2 separate regions of the Homo sapiens genome follow, and region 2 is linked to region 1. The links are contacts of gene promoters, found by promoter capture Hi-C in blood cells and fetal thymus (Javierre and others, 2016). All regions are on one chromosome and are shown on one strand. The core of a region is centred on a gene start or on the middle of the fragment in contact, and the rest is flanking DNA. Distances in the headings are between cores, read along the strand shown. Region 1 holds the start of SV2C (synaptic vesicle glycoprotein 2C). Region 2 overlaps IQGAP2 (IQ motif containing GTPase activating protein 2).

The links. The method cuts DNA at HindIII sites, captures the fragments that hold promoters and counts their contacts. A CHiCAGO score of 5 or more calls a contact.
Region 2: a contact is called between a fragment that was not itself captured here and the fragment with the promoter of SV2C in region 1, in 1 of 17 cell types (naive CD4 T cells). The highest score is 5.8, in naive CD4 T cells.

The regions. Positions count from the first base shown.
Region 1 is chr5:76,080,270-76,087,219 of GRCh38, reverse strand. It overlaps SV2C (synaptic vesicle glycoprotein 2C), which reads right to left and starts at 3,837. Exons shown (of 13, transcript NM_014979.4): 1 at 3,708-3,837. SV2C-AS1 (SV2C antisense RNA 1) reads left to right here and starts at 3,803. Exons shown (of 2, transcript NR_183290.1): 1 at 3,803-4,301; 2 at 4,824-5,814. RefSeq lists an enhancer at 4,473-5,026. The HindIII fragment of the contact is 14,928 bases long and covers 1-6,950 here.
Region 2 is chr5:76,547,345-76,554,294 of GRCh38, reverse strand. The region is part of intron 2 of IQGAP2 (IQ motif containing GTPase activating protein 2); the gene reads right to left. Among named protein-coding and RNA genes, the nearest start is that of F2RL2, 73 kb to the left of the region's middle. RefSeq lists an enhancer at 6,436-6,765. The HindIII fragment of the contact is 5,305 bases long and covers 1,516-6,820 here.

The sequences.
Region 1 (6,950 bases), core at 2,588-5,087:
TTTTCAAATTTGATCCCTAAAATTGTTTTAATTCATACATCTAATGGCATAATACAAAATCTAATGGACCACTTATCTACAAAAACAGAGCCTATAGCTTCATGTAAAATTTTAACATGAGTTAATTTATTTTAAAAACACATTTTCTATACTACTTATAAGCAAACTTCAAACTTAAAATATAACTCATCATATATTTCTCTATTTCCTGGAAAGAAAGAATACTAGAACTAGAAAGGACCAAATCATCCAATCCATCCTGTCCATTTATTTCATTTTGTTCAATACCTCTCAATAGGTAAGCCATCCTCAAGTGCAAATACTACTGCTGTCCCTAATTAGGAGGGGTTGTTTGTAATAAAATAAAATTGTGTTTTAGTATCCCATTAAGACATATTTCTAGCAAGAATTAAAATCGTAACTTCATTCCCATTGTTATTTTTAGCTGTCTCAAATAAAGAAAAAACCTCCAAATTCAAACCACTGCAACATTTTACACTGGTTGCTCAACTGTGCAGAGATTGAAAAAGCAAAGCAGAGATTGAAAACAATGTGGCAATGTTGCATCAAAACTATATATGCCAGGGGCTGCCTTTCCTGGGTTTACAAACAGACTTCATTGAAATGATGAGTTTGTGTTTAAATGGAGAATACTATGTATGCTGTGAACCACAGTCAAACAGGAACCTCACCAACATGGAACCAAGAAATACGCTGGTGTATTGAAGGTTTTCCCTTGATATAGCTGCACAGAAAAAGAGGCATTTTGCTTTCACTACTCACAGAAATCTACCGTCATCTGGAGTAATATGAATAACAACAGTGGGCTGGTTAAGGAGCCATTTTGACAAATCACATGCTTTTATTCATACAATATGTCATCAAGTTTGCTTAAGAATAAGAGATAACACTCCTAATTATAGGAAATGGGTTTTCTGGTACTTGTCGTCACGTGATATATTGCACATTATGATGCCTTTGCCGTAATCTCCTGGAGACTGGGAACTGGATCCTATTATTTGAAGCATTTCCACACTTAAGGAATATGATAGGGTTAATAATGAATAGGAGTTTTACTACAAGCTGTTAGGCCAGTCTGCTGCTCAGATCAGAGAAGCTACTTTCACTGTCATTGGGTCATGAAAAATAAAGCTGATTTCTCCACTACATGAACAAAACACTCAGATGTGATCCAGAGCTTCTTTTTTTCCTTCTCCAGACAGTCAGTAGCTAATGGCATTGGATTACATATTAGACTGTTAGGAAAAGTCTGCTGTCTGCATTTGCTCACATTGAGGGCCAAATTTCATTAAAAAAACAATGCTGGGAAAAGTCTCTAGAATTTTTTAAAAGAAAATTCTGTGTGTGTGTGTGTGTGTGTGTGTGTGTGTGTAGGGGCTTTGTTTGCTAATATTTTCCATTCATGGAAAATTTGTATTTCCAAAGCCAAAGCTCTCTGAGATTATCTCTTTTGTCTTCAAAACAACCCTGTAAGGTACATAAGAGCTAGTATAAGCTATTTTTCACAATTCTCAGAGGTGGAAGATGAACCCAAGAGGGTGAGTAACCTGCCCAAGGTGACATAACACAATATTTGGGGAAATGGTGACTAGCATCTGTGTCTCTGGGTTCCTTGATAATTGCTTTTCTTCCTCCCTCCCTTCCTTTCTTTCTTTTTTCCCAACCCCGTCCCCTTTCATTCATTTTGCCTACATACTGCAGATTTGGGCTCCTTCAGTAAAGCCAGTAGAAAAACTTTGTCACTGGGTTTCCAGAAAGTGGTCTTTAAAAAAAAGAATAAAATGGATCGTGGATTTGATTTATTATTTTCCACCAGAGAATGCGTTATCAGTAGTGTTTTTTAACGCGTATTTTTATGCCATGAAAGAGGAATGCGGCATATTGTTTTGTAAGACATTCTTAAACCTCACTTAGAGGCCAGGCCTCCTGCCAAAAATCCTGCAGAATGGTGGCGCAACGGGTTGGCACTACAGAACCTCACGAACCTCAACACCTAGGCGTTCACATGAAAACTTCCCACGAGCACGAGGCCTTTCGGAACTTGCCATGGAAAATGAGTGAACGCCTGAGAGATTAATGCCACATTCTTCAGAATTAAGGATAAGAATTAAACGGAAGCTACCGCGCTAGCAGTCAGCTAAGTATGAAGGGATTAGGTTCAGCGGGAGAGGAGACCATCACGGCATCCCGGTCTCATCTCCTTAAGGCTCTCATGAGCCTTAAAAGACGCCTCATCTCCTCGGTCCCCCGGGGAGCGCCCGGTAGCTGCGGCTCCTTCCCGGCACTGCGGCGCACTGCGGAGCCGCCTGCCCGCCAGCCCAGGCCGTGCGGGGCTTTCCTCGCCGCCCCGCGCCGCCGCAGTCCTCCCGCCCCCCTCTGCCCCGCCGGGTCGCCGCTCTCCGCGCCAGGCGCGCCGCGGGGCATCCATCAACCCAGAGCTTTTGACGCACACACGCGCGCTCCCAGACGGAGACTCCGTCGCCTGCCCCCGCCCGCCACCCCCGCCCGCCCCTCGCGGGTCTGCATTTGCATCACTCGCACACGTAGAAGGTGACGCGAGCGCCCCCAGCTCAGGCCGTCCAGGCGGCACCTCTAGCCCCCGTGGCTCAGCCCCTCCCCCCGCCCCCGCGCGCCGCCTAAGGTCCCCGCACGCCCACAGATCTGCTCCCGATTGTTCATCTGCCGTGGGGTGCTGGCTGCCCCAAGCCAAGTTCATCCCCGTATTCCGCAGTCCCCGTGGGCCCAGCCCGGGGCGCTCCCCGCGACGCTCTGGAGAAAAGTCTTCCCAGTTCTAGAACCCAGGCGGAAGGGGAAAAGCCCACTAAGAGAAAGGGTCAGAGGGTCGGCTGATGGCTTTTGCTGCCCTCATCGCCATCTAAGATTACCTCGGTAGCTTATTTACTGCGATTGGTCCCTCTCCCCTCTGAGCTTCACAGCCTCGGGTCTGCTTCGCCTGGCCTGGCGCACAGCAGGCGCCCAAAAGGTTTTTGCTGAATGAAGGCGTTGTAACGTAGGAAGTGCAGGCGCTGACAAAGAGCCTCAGCCCCGCGGGCTCCCCTGCTCTCCAGCCCTCTCTTGCTCTCTCTTAGACGCCAGACAGGCGCTTCGGGAATGTATGTGGGAGAGTTTGAAAATTCATGGTGTTTCTTTCAGGCTCTCTCAGCACTTACTGCGGCTACCTCTGCTCTCCCGCCACCTGCACGTCTGCAGAGGGATCCCCGCCGAAAAGTTGAGCCTAAGGCAGCTATGAAGGTATAGGTCCAGGTACCCAGCCCGGGGCTCTAGGCTGCTAGATTTGAATCTGCCTATCCCTGCCGGTCAAACCACACAAGCAAAAAAGAGCGTGGCGGTCGCTGCAGATGCGGCCCCTGCATCCCCGCTGCTGCCCACCCACCTCCTCTGGGAATCCCAGATAAAGTGCGACCCAGTCCCCAGACCTACCCTAGCGAACCCTGGGGTCACTGCATCTATTTTACCCCTACTTTCCTGGTCCCTCTCCAACAAAGGCGCCTACAAAGCAGCGGGCACCTGCAGCCGCTTCCCCGGGGGCAGGCGGGGCAAAGTTGCGCTTCCGAAAGGCTGCAAAAACTTCCCCAGGCTGCAGCGCCCGGCCACCAGTCGGGAAGAGAAATCCAGCAGCGGGGGAAAGTCTCCCCGCGGATGCCCGCTTCACCTCCCCCACTCACCGCTCCAGCCGTCGGACACCCTTGCCCTGAGTGGTGTCAGCACTGCAGCCGCCTCAGTGCGGGCGCCGCTCCGGCTCGCTTCCCCGGGCTGCCTCCGTCTGCCACTCTCGCCTGCAGCGCGCGGAGTGGTGACTCCTCTGAGCGTGTCAGCGGCGAGAGGAGGGGCGGGAAAGTGGCTCCCGGCTTGCACGCTGCGGTCCTCCTCCTCTCCTCCGCCTGCCTCCTCCCCCTGGTGCTGCAGTGCCGGGCGGCGGCGTGGCGAGAGTACCAGCGGTGCGCAGGGAGTCACGGCGCGCGGGGGAGGCGGGACCCGCGCGCCACTCGCGGTGCTCCGGCAAGTCGCGGTGCTGAGGCGCTGCTGCGGTGTGGGACTGGGGCAGGGGGCGGGGAAGGAGAGCCACCTCCAAGTGGTAGGTACTTCTGGAGAAGTCAGGGCTCTGAGTTTGTAGCAGGTGAAGGAGAGGGGCGGCAGTCCTTAATTAGTCACCAACTGTGACTGTGCGTTGCGCACTTGGCGGCGCCCCGGGTCAGGTCCAGCGTGAGACGCGAGGGAGTTCTGACTGCTGGACTCTGTTAGCACCGGACAAAAAGAGGGTTTGTATTCTATTTCCGGGCCTGGGACTGACTTGTTCACTTCGACTTGGCTTCCAGGGAGCAACCAGGCAGAGCTAGGTTGCCTACTTCCCCCAGCCCCCACCCCGACGCTGGAAGACAAGTCCAGAGGAAACTTGGGCACAGCAAGAGCAAACAGAAGAAAACTTCGCTGGGTTAAGTCTACTGTCTCCCCAATGCTACATAGGGCCAGACAGCTGGGCTCACAGGCAGATATTGAAAGTGGCCCCTTAGAGGGGAAACAACCAAATATGAGGGGGGGGGGGTGGAGAGAGAGATAGAGAGAGAGAGAGGAGGAGGAGGAAGAAAGAAAGAAAGAAAGAAAAAGAGAAAGAAAGAAAGGAGGAGGAGGGAGAAAGAGAGAGGAGAGAAGAGAGAGAGAGAGGGAGAGAGAGAGAGAATTTTGCTTGTGTTGTTAGAAACAAACATTTCTCCCCTTGGCGTGCAGGAGAGAGAATTTTGCTTGTGTTGTCAGAAACAAACATTTCTCCCCTTGGCGTGCAGGAGACCCCAACTCGAGCTTCACTGTTCCAAAGCGGTGGGCCAGGCGGCTGGAGAGAAACTCGCTCCCGTGAGGCCACACCCAGGCCTGGCGCACCCACCCCGCGGCAGCAGTGGAGGGCGTCGCCCTCCCGGGCCTTCCGACGCAGACCCTGCCATCCGGATGCTGCGGGAAGTAGGGCATCCTCACGTCCCTGACTCCTCCGGCTCCGCGCGCTCACGGAACCCAAGTGGAGTGGGAAGCGGTCACACAGGCGTGTGCCGTCCCCGAAATCGTTGCTCCTGTGGTGGTGACCCAAAGCGAGACAAAGCGCCGCGCCAATACGGGCTGCAGTGATTGGAACTCAAACACACACATCTCTCCGCGAATGTGTTCCATCCGTGTAAATATGCCTGGGTGATTGAATGGATGGCTGAATGAACGCTGTGTGGATAGAAATATAAATGTTACATGTATAATACAGGCGCCGGGGAAGGAGAGCTGTCAGGCACCCCCAGGCTGGAGCCTCCTGCCCAGAGGAGCCGGTGGAGACAGGCGGTTCGCCCAGGGCGGTGTTGTTAGCTTGGGCTTTCCAGTTCGATTTGTGCCACTATGCAGGATACTGTGAAGAGAAGAAAATGGAGACAACTCTTGGCCTCTCATTTTCCCTCCTCTCTGGTTCAGACACTCTGGCACTAAAAGTTATGATTCTCATGTGCTGTTGAACCTACACTTCCTTGCTGGTCTGTCTTGTTCCGGTGAGAGGCTTTGCAGTCTGTGACCATGGTGCTATGAGATGGTCAGGCAATATGAAAATTAGTGAACGTGCTCATTTTCATTTCGTGGATTCTTCTTAGTAAAATAATTATTTAAATAGTTAAATAATTTAAATAGTTAAATAATTTAAATAATTATTTAGGCTAAAATTAATGTGCTGCTACTATGACAAGGAAGTGCCTATGAATCCAGCATTGGAAATACAATTGTGAAATTAAAAAATAAATCCTATCTGGATTCCCCGCATGTTATTTATAAAAATTTGAGCTTCCAACTGCAAAATGTGCTGGCAATTCACTGAGTTCTCAAACGGTTACCTTTTTGAGAACCTCCCCTAAACTGTTGCAGAATAATGGATTGTTTCTCCAAGTGATGGAAGTTCAGAAAACCATGAAACAAACTTTAAACGTGATCAACGTTCTTTATGCTATGCTGTATCTTCCTTAAATTATTCTCCTATCTTGTCCGTGGAAGATATTTTTTTAAAGTGGGTTGATTTTTCTACTTCTGGATTTTCGTGTCTTGATGCATTTGAAGGTAACAGCTCCTTTAGGAAAATCCCTGATTGTGATTTTGCCTGAAACATCCCATTTAAGACCAGGTTGCACTGGAAAAGGCTATTTTAACGTTGTGTCTTTGGAGGACATGAAACATTGTGTCATGATGATGTTGTGCCCTGGTTCCTGGACTTGCCCTCTAAAGCAGTTCTGGTTCTAGGGTCCTGCCTGGCACACACCTTGGCCCCAGGCCCCTTGGATCCAGCACTCAGACTAGTTTTATTCATGCCTTCATTATAATGAAATGTTTTCTCTCTTCTGAAAACACTTGTCTTGTAGAAGCGGATGGAGTGAAAAGGGGTATACCCTCCATCCCCACAGAATCCCAGTACTCTAAAGTCATTGCTCTCCTACACCTCAGGACTTTTGTTCCTCAATGCAGGGTGTCGTCTTGTGATGCTAAAAAACAAGCTGTGAAAGACACCTAATGAGCATGAGAGGTCTGTTTTCGCATCAGCAAAGTGGTTTTCATAAAAATAATTCACACTAAGTACAGATGCTATAGTGGTTATATTTTATAATATACACAAGAAGCACAGTGCCTAGTACACAATGGGTATAGAATAAATGTCAGTTGCTCTTCCTCTTTTAGTAGTCAGGGCAAGGTTTTCCAAAGCCTGCGCTTTGGAGAACTGGTTTTGTAAGATGCTCTGGAAAGTCAGAGTTACACCTGGCTTCCACAGCAGATGTCTGAAGACAGCCCCATACTCTTGGACCAAGTCCACACAGCTCTCCACTTCTCCTCACTATCATCAGGAGTCTATAGCAAAGTGCAGACACCTACTCTTCTTACCCCAACACTCAGCTTCCACAACA
Region 2 (6,950 bases), core at 2,919-5,418, 470 kb before region 1:
TGTTTATATTTTTGGTATTTTATATGTTATATATTTATACCTATGTTTTCTTCTCTTTTATCTCATAGTTTAGGTCTTTGATCCATTTTGAACTACTTTCTGTATATGATGTGAGGTGAGAGTCTAACTTCATTCTTTTGCATGTGGCTACCCAGTTGTCCCAGCACCACCAGTTGAAAAGACTACCTTTGTTGAACTGTCTTGGCACCTTTATTGAAAATTAACTGACTGTACAAGTGAGTGTTCATTTCTGAACTCTAAATTCTAGTCCAATCTATATGTCTATGACTTATGTACAGATAGTACATAAAGTGTGCATACATAAAATCAAGTTAGAGATACTTCATGTGTCATCAAGAGCCTGTGTTCAAATTTGGCCTAAAAATCCACAGAAACGAAAACCAGAATATTCCCCCTTCCCCACCAACACTGTCCTTGCATTCACTGCTTCTTCCCCATTCTTTCTATTGACTAGTTTATTGGCCCACAACCCCAATATGTGAATGTCTTGTTTCAAAGCAAAAGTTTAAGCTATTTCTTATGAGCATCTTATGGGTTGCTAGAGAACCTCATCTTCCTTTTTAGGGTGGGACTACTTGTGGCAGAAGGGGAGAGAAAGGAGAAATCTTTCAAATTTTAGGGCAAGAAGAAAAATTCTGTCTTGTGGGAGAAAAAAGAAAAAGAAAAAGAAACCACCCCACAAAAATCCTGAAGCAAACAATCCTTTCTATTGTACTACTTTGTGCCTTGCAGAACATACGAAAGTTGTTTTGTGGAGGCATTTGCTATCTGAGTTGTTACTCAGGAAATCACCAACTATAAATCTTGGTCTGTATCATACAGTGCTGTATGGAATAAGTATCCTGACGGTAGAACTGCTGGCCAAGAACAGAAAAATGTGTTTTATTTGCATAAGCCCTGTTTTAATGCAGTGCCCTGTTCTATGAACTTTCAAGTATCACAAGTCAATTTTTCCCTTAATATTTTAAAAATCAGCACATAAGACATATTCTAAAAGAATATAAGAATATCTGGACTTTGTTTTTATGTATAGCATAGTTGGTCATTTTCCACCTTCTGTGTCAACAGGCAGTAAAAGCATCAGAAGGACTAAGTTAAGTTCTCATGGCAAAACTTTTCATTAGCTGGAGGCCAATGCAAAACTGCCACCATGATTCCATTAGCCTTATTAGCCCAGGGGAACGTGGCTGTAGGAACCCACCCTGCAAAACTAAAGTGGGCATCTACGGGCCCCTATCTTTCTCTCATACAAAACTTATTTGGTTCACTCTAAGAAAGTGACATGAAAGGCTAATTATTTTCTTTAGTAAAATTTTTGCTTTGCTTTAAGAATGCTAATTATTTTCCTTAAAACACAGGCACACAATACCATGAAAAGAATCAACATATGACTTCAAGATCTAGTAGGAGTGGAACAGACTGCAGAGGACTTATGTCTCACTCTTCTCTTTCAGGGGGAGATGATATAGTATAATCTGTTGAGTTTGGCAAGCTTCCCCAAACTGTGTTCCACAGAACGTTGTCTCAGATGCTAAGAGAGACTGTTGCTAGAAATATGGACATGAAAGGTGATTCTAGTGAGATTTTAGACAGAAATGAGGAACATGTTATTAGACACTGAAAAAAGGCAATCCTTGTTATAAAATGGCCAAGAACATTGCTGAATTGCATTTTTGTGTTTTGTGGAAGGTAGAGCTTGTAAGTGACAACCTTGGATATTCTGCTGAGATTTCTAAGCCAAGTGTTGAAAGCCTGTTGTGCTTTCCTTGCCACTTTCCTTTCTCCTTACTGCTTCTATTAAAGTGCAAGAGAAGTGAGAGAAATTAAAGAAAAAATTGTTAGGCTAAACAAACCAGAACTTAAAGATCTGGAAAATTCTCAGCTTATCCATATTGCAAAAAAATGAGAATGTGTTCTGGAGAGGGCACCAACAGTGTGACTGGACAATCACTCCCTAAAGAGTGACAGTGGGACTCACAGATCTAATTGGCCATCTCAACAGAAGCCAGGAATAGAGACGGGGTTCTACCAGTAGCAGAAACACTGCTGACTTGGACTAAAGGGGACAGAGACAGGACACAACAGCAGCAGGCTTCTGAGATGCTACAGGATGGGACAATAGATCTATCTGGCTCTGGGTGTGAGCATGTATTATCCTTCAAGAAAAAGGAAGAATGGTCCCTAAAGCTACTACTCTCACCCCACAACGAAAGTGTTCAGGCCCAGGGGCGAGGAAGGCTCTCTTCCATTTCAAAGGGTGAGGCTCTCTCTGTCTCAGTGTGAGAGGGTGAGGCTGTCATTGTCCAAGGCCTCAAAAGCAAGGCTGCCACCTGGGGCCTTGAAGAAATTCTGCCAGTCCTCTCCCTCCCCCTCCCCTCCCCCTCCCCTCCCCCTCCCCCTCTCCGTCTCCCTCTCCCGTCTCCCTCTTTGCAAGGTCTCCCTCTGATGCCCAGCGGAGGCTGGACTGTACTGCCGCCATCTCGGCTCACTGCAACCTCCCTGCCTGATTCTCCTGCCTCAGCCTGCAGAGTGCCTGGGATTGCAGGCACGCGCAGCCACGCCTGACTGGTTTTTGCATTTTTTGGTGGAGACGGGGTTTCGCCGTGTTGGCTGGGCTGGTCTCCAGCTCTGGACCGCGAGTGATCTGCCTGCCTCGGCCTCCCGAGGTGCCGGGATTGCAGACGGAGTCTCGCTCACTCAGTGCTCAATGTTGCCCAGGCTGGAGTGCAGTGACGTGATCTCGGCTCGCTACAACCTCCACCTCCCAGCCGCCTGCCTTGGCCTCCCAAAGTGCCGAGATTGCAGCCTCTGCCCGGCCGCCACCCTGTCTGGGAAGTGAGGAGTGTCTCTGCCTGGCCGCCCATCATCTGGGATGTGAGGAGCCCCTCTGCCCGGCCGCCCAGTCTGGGAAGTGAGGAGTGCCTCTTCCCAGCTGCCATCCCATCTAGGAAGTGAGGAGCATCTCTGCCCGGCCGCCCATCATCTGAGATGTGGGGAGCGCCTCTGCCCCGCCGCCCCGTCTGGGATGTGAGGGATGTGAGGATTGCCTCTGCCCGGCCCCGACCCCGTCTGGGAGGTGAGGAGCGTCTCTGCCCGACCGCCACCCCGTCTGGGAGGTGAGGAGCGTCTCTGCCCGGCCGCCCCATCTGAGAAGTGAGGAGCCCCTCCGCCCCGCAGCCGCCCCGTCTGGGAAGTGAGGAGCCCCTCCGCCCGGCAGCCACCCCGTCCGGGAAGTGAGGAGCCTCTCTGCCCGGCCAGCCACCCCCGTCCGGGAGGGAGGTGGGGGGCAGCCCCCGCCCGGCCAGTCGCCCCATCCGGGAGGGAGGTGAGGGGCGCCTCTGCCTGGCCGCCCCGTGTGGGAAGTGAGGAGCCCCTCTGCCCGGCCGCCACCCCGTCTAGGAGGTGTACCCAACAGCTCATTGAGAACGGGCCATGATGACGATGGCGGTTTTGTCAAATAGAAAAGGGGGAAATGTGGGGAAAAGAAAGAGAGATCAGATTGTTACTGTGTCTGTGTAGAAAGAAGTAGACATGGGAGACTCCATTTTGTTCTGTACTAAGAAAAATTCTTCTGCCTTGTGATCCTGTTGATCGGTGACCCTACCCCCAACCCCGTGCTCTCTGAAACATGTGCTGTGTCCACTCAGAGTTAAACGGATTAAGGGCGGTGCAAGATGTGCTTTGTTAAACAGATGCTTGAAGGCAGCATGCTCCTTAAGAGTCATCACCACTCCCTAATCTCAAGTACCCAGGGACACAAACACTGCGGAAGGCAGCAGGGTCCTCTGCCTAGGAAAACCAGAGACCCTTGTTCACATGTTTATCTGCTGACCTTCCCTCCACTATTGTCCTATGACCCTGCCAAATCCCCCACTCCGAGAAACACCCAAGAATGATCAATAAATACTGAAAAAAAAAAAAAAAAAATTCTGCCAGCCCAATGGGCCTGGAGGACAGATCATCATGTAAAAAGAATTATTTTCAGGCCTTAAAATTGAACATAATTTGCCCAGCTAGGTTTTGGACTTGCTTTGGACCCATGACCCTTTTTTCTTCCTTCCAAGTTTTCCCTTTTGGAATGGAAATGTCTATCCTAAGCCTGTCCCCATCATTGTATTTTGGAAGCAAATAACTTGTCTGGTTTCACGGGTTCACAGCTGGAGAAGAATTTTTGCCTCAAGATGAATCATATACTTGAGTCTCTCTCACTTTGATGTAGATGATATTTAGATGAGATTTGGGACTTAGAATTGATGCTAGAATGGGTTAAGGCTTAGGTTGTTGAATGCAGGTGAATGTATTTTGCTGTGAGGAGGACATGAATTTTGGGGGTGCAGAGGGCAGAGTGTTATGGTCAGAACTGTGTTCCCCTCCCCAAATTTATATGTTGAAGTCCTAACCCCTAATACCTCAAAATGAGACTGTATTTGAAGACAGGGCCTTTAAAGAGATGGTTAAGTTAAAATGAGGTGATTAGGTGTGGCTACTGTCCTTATAAGAAAAGGTGATCAGGGCACAGAGAGCTCCCAGGGCTGAACGCTCATAGAGGGAAGACAGAAGGACATAGTGAAAGGGCCATCTGCAAAGCCGAGGACAGAGGCCTCAGAAGAAACCAAACACATTGACACCTTGCTCTTGGATTTCCAGCCTCCAAAACTGTGAGAAAGTAAATTTCTGTTGTTTAAGCCTCCCAATCTGTGGTATTTTGTTTATGGCAGCCTGAACAAACTAATACACTAGCTAAAACATCAACTCCCATCATCCTCTAAAATTCCTCACCCAATTTTCTCTTCACTGCATTTATTACTACCTGGCAGACTAGATATAATACTTATTAGTTTGACTGGCTCACTCAGTTAGACTGTGAATTCTACAATAGCAAGGACCTTATCTGTCTTGAGAGGCATCTAACACAATGGTTGAAAGCACACACACACACACACACACACACACTCCAGAGCTCGACGCCTGAGACTGAACCAAAGCTCTGCCACTTACCAGTTACGTGCCCCTTGGGTAACTGAATTAATCTGAGTCTGTTTCCTAATCTACAAAATGGGATAATAATAGAACTGCTTCCAAGGGCTAATAGGAGAAAAGCACTAGAACAGTGCCTGGCATATAGTAGGTACCTTTCATGGTAGCTATTGTAGTTTTTACTGCTCACCACCATATCCCAGACCATGCCCCGCCAATATGATTCACTGTTCACACCTGACCTTCAGCAGTATTTGTTTAGTTCAGCACTGTTTAGCCATACAGACTTCCTTGCGCAGGAAGTATGCCAGCATTTTGACTATCAAACATGCCTTCTTCTCCCATCCCAGTCTGTTGCACCCCCTGAACAAATCCACTCCTCCTGCTAAACACATCCTATTGCCTTACACTAGATACACTCTTAAATGGCATTTAGTAGGGGCTATGTAAATATTTACATATGTTCAGGAGAGCCAGGTTTCTGCTATAATGAGACTCCCACTCTACTGATAATGCCAATGGCAAACAATTGCAGCTCACATTTACTTAGCACATGGACTAGCACTTAGCAGGTACTTGGCACTTATATGAATGTATTCTCACACTAATCTGATGAGATTGATATCACTCCCCTTTAATAGAGAAGGAAGAAGAGGCTCAGAGAGTTAAGTAATTTGCTCAAGATTACACAGCTAGTAAGCGGCTGAGCTGTGATTTAAATTCAGGTTGTCACCTCTGCAGGACACCTCTCTGCCACTCTGCTCTGACAAATCACTTAAGATTAATAGGGTGAACAGGGCTTAAGCTCACTTCCTAGGAATGCTCTCTTCTTAAGCAGAAGCCTTAGGTGAAACCTTTTCTAAAACTAAAATGAGCCAATTCAGATCTTGATAAACTATGCTTTCCCAAAGCCAGGTGTGCCTGTGCTTTAAGACAGATGAAGGTGAACATACTCTTCAGGACTGGCTGAAGAGGCTGTGGTCACTTTCGGAAGTGTCTGTGGGGGTACAGCTGTGTTCACTGGACCTTGGATCTCCAAAAATCTGGCTTCTAACTTGGTTCTGCAACTGTATTCATCTTCATTACTTTGGGGTACAACAATCTCTCTGGGCCACAATTTCCTCTATCAGAAAACTGGGTACAATACTTGCTACCTCACAGAGAAGTCATGAGAATGAAAACAGATGCTAAATGTGAAATCACCCAGGAAAAAAGCACCCAGCATGCAACAGGTCCTCAAGAAACAATTGTTAACAAAATGAAATTAAAAGGAGGTAGGCAAGTGGCCACCAGTTTAAAGCGTAATGCTACCAAGGATTTATCACACTGTTCTCCACAGAGCAGCGTGGCTACACTGATCTGAACATATGAGATCCAATGTCTTCCAGGTGGAGACTACTGTGGGATGTGACACCCTGCAGGAAAATAAGCTGACCAAAGGGCCTTGGAGAACTGAGCTCAAAAATGGGACTCTGCCAACCTGCCTTCCCTAGAACTTGCTACAGGGGAGACTGAGCTGTCATGTCTGTTTGCAGTGCAAAGCACCTTCAGTTTTACAAGATAACCATGAGCTGGGGTGCAGAGGTAAAGTAAAGAAGAAAGAACCGAAAGTACTCAGCAGAAGTTTCCTGGCACATCAACAGTCATCTGAGGCTTACGCATACATTTTGGTCTAAATAACAACTTAAGACTTGATGAAGCAGATTCTCCTTCCTGGGTTTGTCTACACTGTGCACATGCTCTAACCACAAAATAATCACTGTTCTTGCACTTTTAACACGTCTTTGCCCCAACGTAGGCAGGAAAATGAAAGCAACAAGCTTAATAAGATCATTGTAAACTTACTTAAATTGCCACAACTCCTTCCTACACTTGACTTCCCTCTTCTAAGCCCCAAGCAAGTATTCAATATGGAATTGTTAAATAATGGACATTCCAGAACACCAAGAGAA